Regions from separate parts of the Homo sapiens genome. Here region 2 is linked to region 1. Evidence: promoter capture Hi-C in human tissues and cell types (Jung and others, 2019). All regions are on one chromosome and are shown on one strand. The core of a region is centred on a gene start or on the middle of the fragment in contact, and the rest is flanking DNA. Distances in the headings are between cores, read along the strand shown.

What was found. Contacts are between HindIII fragments. The study calls those that stand out against the background at their distance.
Region 2: a fragment that was not itself captured here is called in contact with the fragment with the promoter of PRLH in region 1 in 7 of the 25 tissues and cell types used here (IMR-90 fibroblasts, aorta, bladder and 4 more).

The regions. Positions count from the first base shown.
Region 1 is chr2:237,564,702-237,568,116 of GRCh38, reverse strand. It overlaps PRLH (prolactin releasing hormone), which reads right to left and starts at 1,543. Exons shown (of 2, transcript NM_015893.1): 1 at 1,444-1,543; 2 at 942-1,105. The coding sequence starts at 1,543. The coding sequence ends at 942. The HindIII fragment of the contact is 10,563 bases long and covers 1-3,415 here.
Region 2 is chr2:237,505,387-237,508,801 of GRCh38, reverse strand. All of the region lies in intron 2 of MLPH (melanophilin), which reads right to left. Among named protein-coding and RNA genes, the nearest start is that of MIR6811, 3.8 kb to the left of the region's middle. The HindIII fragment of the contact is 6,955 bases long and covers 1-3,415 here.

The sequences.
Region 1 (3,415 bases), core at 294-2,793:
TACACCTGAGGCAGGATGTGGAGACATCCCCGTGTGATTTGAAAGGGACGCACGTGGCGTGGGAGCAATCTAGGTTCAAGTCTCCCTGCCATGGGTCAGAAACAATCCATGATGCATCTTCCCTGAGTAAGAGGGAGGCAAGACAGACTGCAATGAGAGGACTAGCAGTTGTAGGGGTTGCGGGGTGCAGGGATGAGTAGGGGGAGCCCAGAGGACTTCTAGGACAGTTAAACGACTCTGCGTGATGCCACATCGTGTTGTTGTACATTTGTGCAAACCCACAGGACGCACAGCGTGGAGAGTGGGCTCTGACATACGCTGGTTGGGGATGGGGATGTGTCAGTGTGGGTTCCTCGACTGGGACAAAAGCACCCTCGGTGGGGGTGTTGATCATGGGGGAGGCTGTGCGGATGTGGGGGAAGGGGGTGGATGGGAACTTTCTGTACCTTCTACTCAATTTTGCTGTGAACCTAAAGCTGCTCTGAAAAATAGTCTAAATAAAAAGGACTGAAGTTGAGGGGCTGCCCAGGGCTCAGGCTGGGGGCTGTGCTACCGTCCTATGGGGACAGTGTCCTGCAGAGTATGACGCGTGGCACCTCCTGGCCTTCTGCAGTGGACAGCCTGGGCAGCCACTCAGGGCAGCTTGGGTGTGGGGGTGGCTGTGGGCTGCCGGTGACCAAGGGTAGACCCAGCGCCCCAACTCAGTGCCAAGTGCCCTCTGCCAAGTCACAAAGCCTTTTCTTCCAAAGAAGTTGCTGGGCTCTGAGGTTCTTTCTAGTCTAATGTCCCAGGAGGGAACAACTTCAGAGTCACCACCACACAGTCGTGAATGTGTAACTGAAGACCAGAGCTTTTATTAGGATTGAAGGGAAAGGAGCCCGAAGGAGAGGAGAGGGTGGGGTGGGGGAGGCTCCAGAGTGAGTTTCTTGACAAGCTGGCTGTCAGCCATCCTGGGACGACATAGCACCGCCTTCCAGGGGGAAGCAGGTCAGCCGGGGTCGCAGGCCAGGCTTGGGGACGTCCCCCAGGGTTGCCCTCCTCCGACCGAAGCGGCCCACAGGCCTGATCCCGCGACTGGCGTACCAGGCAGGATTGATGTCAGGGGCTGGAAAGGAAAGAGCTGGAGCAGACCATGGGCACGTGTCCCCAGGGTGTGCTGTGCTCCCAGAGGCAGCGGGGCAGAGTGCACAGGCAGGGCCTCTCAGCCCAGTCGCCAGGCCATGCTGGGAGCCACCCGAGGAACAGGCACCCAGAGGTTCTGGCGAGGCCATTTCTGGGCGTGGGCTGGCTTTGGGAAGCAGGAGTTCAAAAAAGCACCAAGACTGACTTCCCTTTCCTCCCGCGCACCCCGTTCCTGCCAGGTTCTCGAGCGACCAGGCTGCACTAGGTTCTGGGGTGAGGCAGGGTGGGGTAAGGGAGGCTGACAGGGGTCCAGGCACTCACTGCGGATCTCCATGGAGTGCCGATGGGTACGACTTGCAGCTCCCCGCAGGGCCAGGCCCAGCATCAGCAGGCACAGGAGCCAGGCCCTCAGCACCTTCATCCCTTGGCTCCTCCGAGGAGGCCCCGCTGGAGGGGAGATCCAAATGAGGAGGACACGGCCTGGGGGAGAAGGGGCAGGAGCAGCGTCACACAGGCATCAGGGTGCGTGTGCACGGAGCTGGGACCTTGGGTAGAGTGAGCACTGTGTGTGAGAGAGAAGTATGTGCATGAGCCTGTGTGCATGTGAGTGCACAGCTGTGTATGTATATGTGTACAAGAGGGTGTGGTGTGTGCACATGGGTGCCTGTGTGTGTGTATGTGTGCAGATATGTGTGTGTATGTGTGTAGATGTGTGTATGTGTGCAGGTGTGTGTGTATGTGTGTAGATGTGTGTGTATGTGTGCAGATGTGTGTGAGTGTATGTGTGTAGATGTGTGTATGTGTGCAGATGTGTGTATGTGTGTAGATGTGTGTGTATGTGTGTAGATGTGTCTGTGTGTATTGTGTAGATGCGTGTGTATGTGTGCAGATGTGTCTGTGTGTAGATGTGTGTATGTGTGTAGGTTTGTGTGTATGTGTGTAGATGTGTGTGTATGTGTGCAGATGTGTGTGAGTGTGTGATGTGTGTATGTGTGCAGATGTGTGTGTGTGTAGATGTGTGTGTATGTGTGTAGTGTGTCTGTGTGTATTGGGTAGATGCGTGTGTATGTGTGCAGATGTGTCTGTGTGTAGATGTGTGTATGTGTGTAGGTTTGTGTGTATGTGTGTAGATGTGTGTGTGTAGATGTGTGTATGTGTAGGTGTGTGTAGTTGTGTGTGAGTGTATGTATGTGTGTGGATGTGTGTGTAGTTGTGTGAGTATGTGTGTAGATGTGTGTGTATGTGTAGATGTGTGTGTAGCTGTGTGTGTGTGTATGTGTGTAGATGTGTGTATGTGTGTAGATATGTGTGTAGATGTGTGTGTGTCGATGTGTGTGTGAGTGTGTGTAGATGTGTATGTGTGTAGGTGTGTGAGTGTACATGTGTAGATGTGTGTGTGAGTGTATGTGTGTATGAGTGTAGGTGTGTGAGTGTATGTGTGTAGATGTGTGTATGTATGTGTGTAGATGTGTATGTGTGTAGATGTGTGTGTAGATGTGTGTGTGTACGTGTGTAGATGTGTGTGAGTGTGTGTAGATGTGTATGAGTGTAGATGTGTGTGTATGTGTGTAGATGTGTGTGTAGTTGTGTGTGAGTGTATGTATGTGTGTAGATGTGTGTGAGTGTGTAGATGTGTATGTATGTGTGTAGATGTGCGCGTGCACATAGCCACATAGATCTCCACGTGTTCCTCTGATCTGTGCTGAGGTGGGAATAAGCACAGAAACAGCAGTTAAACCTGGCTCTCTGCATGGTCCCCCACCCGCCTGTGACCCCATTCTCTCCTCTGCGCAATGAGGTGTTAAGTGAGATGCTTCTGTGCGCGTCAGCCTCTAACGGGATCGGTCACATGTACATTGATGCTCATGATCAGAAAGCCCTCAGGAGGTGTGAGCTACGCGTTATAAAGGGGGGCTGTCATGGAACAGCCTTGGGTCCGTCTGTCCGCCTGTGTTAAGGGATCAGAAGGTGCAGCAGGCCTCTGCACGGCTGTGCATGTTGCACACCCAGGACAGCAGGTTTGTGGGGAGGTGCCCAGGGAGCTGCACAGGTGGAGGCAGCCCCTTGCTCAACCTCAGACATGGTTGGGGAGCTGGGGAGTGCCAAGCCTGGACCAGGCTCAGGGGCTGGAATCCGGTGCACGGCCCCTTCCCACATTCATCTCAGCGCCTCCTAATGCCTGGTTCCAGCCTGCCAGCCCAGCCCTGCTGGGGAATGTCAGCCGACAGCTGCGTGTCGTAGAATGAGTCTGCATCCTCTGCCCTAAGTAAGCCCACTCACCCTTGCCATGACG
Region 2 (3,415 bases), core at 595-3,094, 60 kb after region 1:
AGATGGGAGCACCACCGGCTATGCTGGTGGAGGTGGAGAAGAACTGGTTAAGACAGAGATGGCGAGAAATCACAGCTCACAATGGAGGGGGAAATGGGCACAATTTCTACCGTGGAATATTAGATCCAATGATTTCGAAGAGTGGTCTTCAAAGTGTGGTCCAGGGACCTCTCTTCTGGAGGTTCCTAAGATCCTTTAGGGGGGTGAGTCACAAGGCCAAAGCTATTTTTGTAATAATGCTGAGACATCATTTGCCTTTTCTTTGCTCTTTGATGCCTGCACTGAAGGTGTAAAAACAATGGTGGATAAACTGCTGAGGCTTTAGCACGAGTCAGGGCAGTGGGCCCAACTGCTCTGACAGTCATTAGATCCTTCATTGAAAAAGAAATGAGCTGGGTGCAGTGGCTCACACCTGTAATCCCATCACTTTGGGAGGCTGAGGAAGGTGGATCACCTGAGGTAAGGAGTTCAAGACCAGCCTGGCCAACATGGTGAAACCCCGTCTCTACTAAAAATACAAAAATTAGCCAGGCACAGTGGTGGACACCTGTAATCCCTGCTACTCAGGAGGCTGAGGCAGGAGAGTCGCTTGAACCAGGGAAGCAGAGGTTGCAGTGAGCCGAGATTGTGTCACTGCACTCCAGCGTGGGTGACAGAGTGAGATTCTGTCTCAAAAAAAAGAAAAAGAAATGAGAAGAAAAAACAGTTTCATTAAAGAATCACCTTGATGAAACCCTAAAAGTTATGAGTCTTTTTGAACCGTGGCCCCCAGTCCATGTCTTTTGAGGATTCTGCCTGATGAGCTTGGAGGAGGACAGGAAGCTCTTGTGCCACGTGTTGAAGGTGACAGATATTTCTATTAAAAGGATTGGGCAATTGTTCCGATCGCCACCTGAGCTAGAAACTTTTCTTATGAAATAGCATTTTCACTTGAGAGAACAACAGAGAGATGAACTGTTTCGACTTGGGTACTTGGCAGATATTTTCTCAAAAATGAACAAAGTGCGACTCTCACTTCAAGGAAAAGAAGTGACAGTATTTATTGCCAGTAATAAAACGGAAGCTTTCAAGCACAAAGTAGAATTCTGGAAAACATATATCGCCTGCTGTGAGCTTGACAGTTTGCAACACTGGGAGACTTTTGATGAGGGTTTCCAACACCGGGAGACTTTTGATGAGATCGCTGGTGAGAGTAACAGAAGTGGTTCTCTTTTGGTGTGCATATGAAATGTGTCAACATTTGAGAAGTCTGCATCACTCAGTGAGCCGGTGTCTTCCAAATGATTAATGCATGGTGTTACAAAAATCACACAGGGGTAGAAAATCCACTTCAAGTGCAAGAGAGACCAATGGATTTGAACAAACAGAAAAGGAAAAGTTCATTAACATGGTTTCAGATTCCACATCACAACTAACCTTTAAGAAACTACCAACTGGCCGGGCGCAGTGGCTCATGCCTGTAATTCCAGCACTTTGGGAGGCTGAGGCAGGCAGATCACTTGAGGTCAGGAGTTTGAGACTAGCTCGGCCAATGTGGTGAAACCCTGTCTCTACTAAAAATGCAAAAATTAGCCAGACATGGTGGCACGCACCTGTAGTCACAGCTACTTAGGAGGCTGAGGCAGGGGAATCGCTTGAACCTAGGAGGTGGAGGTTGCAGTAAGCCGAGATTACGCTACTGCACTCCATCCAAGGGTGGCAGAGAGAGACTTTGTCTCAAAAAAAAAAAAAAAAAAAAAGAAAAAAAAAAGAAAAAGGAAAAAAACTACCAACTCCAACTGCCGGGTTTTCATGTTGTAACAACACATGATGTTAATTATTGTCTACAAAGGCTATTCAAGTACTCCTTTTTTCAATTATGTATCTGTATGAGCCTAGATTTTCTTCAAATACTACAGCCTAGAAAACATGTTACGACCCACTGAATGCAGAAGCAAGTGGAGAATTCACCCATCTTCTATTGTTCCAGATAAGGGAGGAGACCACCCCTCATATTGTCTTATGCCCAATTTCTGCCTCCAAAGAAAAAAGAAGTAAAAACTAAAAGGCAGAAATGAAATCCACAGGCAGACAGCCCAGCGCCACACCCTGGGCCTGGTAGTTAAAGATCGACCCCTGACCTAATCAGTTATGTTATCTATAGATTACAGACATTGCACGGAAAAGCATTGTGAAAATCCCTGTCCTGTTCTGTTCCATTCTAATTACTGGTGCAGGTGCATGTAGCCCCCAGTCACGTACCCCCTGCTTGCTCAATCGATCATGACCCTCTCACATGAACCCCCTTAGAGTTGTAAGCCCTTAAAAGGGACAGGAATTGCTCACTCGAGGAACTTGGTTTTTGGAGACGTGAGTCTGCCGATGCTCCCAGCTGAATAAAGCCCTTTCCTTCTACAATTCGGTGTCTGAGGAGTTCTTGTCTGTGGCTTGTCCTGCTACACAGACATTAAAGAGATTTGCAAAAGCAGAACAACACCACTCACCTTACTCACACTCTGATTTTGGGAAAATCTCATTTTTTATAAAAACTGTATTTATATTAACATGTAGGGGGTTTACTGTTATTTTTAAATGAGTGAATAAATAAATATTTTTAACTCCCAGTTTTAATTTCTGATGTGGTAAATATTAATAGATATGACCCATATGAATAAAACTCTTTGGGGTTCTCAGTAATTTAGGAAATGTGAAGGGGTCCTGAGGCCCAAAGGTTTGAGAACTGCTGATTTCGAAGTCAAGTTTGCTCTCCCTCCCAGAATGTGGAGAAAAGGGACTAAGCGATGGGAGACAGTGGGGAGATGATGGCAAAGGCCGAGAAAGTGAGCTCCCAGGGGAGACAGAGCCCTGGAGACGGGGATGCATGGGGGTGGAAGGGAAGTGCTGTCCTTGTCCTTGGGGCAGGGGACCCACATTACTGTCCTCTGCAGTCCCACCTCCAGAGGGCCCTGGGACACGCATGCCAGAGCTGTGACTGGTGGGGCAGAACAGAGCCAAGGGGGCACTCCTGTCCTCAAGGGAGGCCCGGCAGCCTCTGAAGAAAGGGCGTATACCAGGGAAGGAAAACGCTTCTAGGACGGGAACAGGAAGGAAAGGCCGCTCCTATGATGGGGTCTGGACAGGATTGGTGAGCCACGCAGGGTGAAGGGGTCAGACCTGTGCCCTGCTCTGCCCCTCTTGGGGTGAAATCTAGACAGGGGTGTGGTGGCAACATGCAGGAATACTGGGGAGAGCCCAGGATGGCGGGGCTGGTGGCCACCCCTGAAGGCACAGCAGGGGGAAGCTCCCACTGTGGCCATCCCCAAGGTCCAGCACACAGGCGGGGGAAGAGCCTGCATGAGGGGTCCTGTGGGCCTCCACTTGCGTTGGGTGCTGGGGTGGTGGGGAATCCACATCCCTGTGATCCTTAAACCATGCT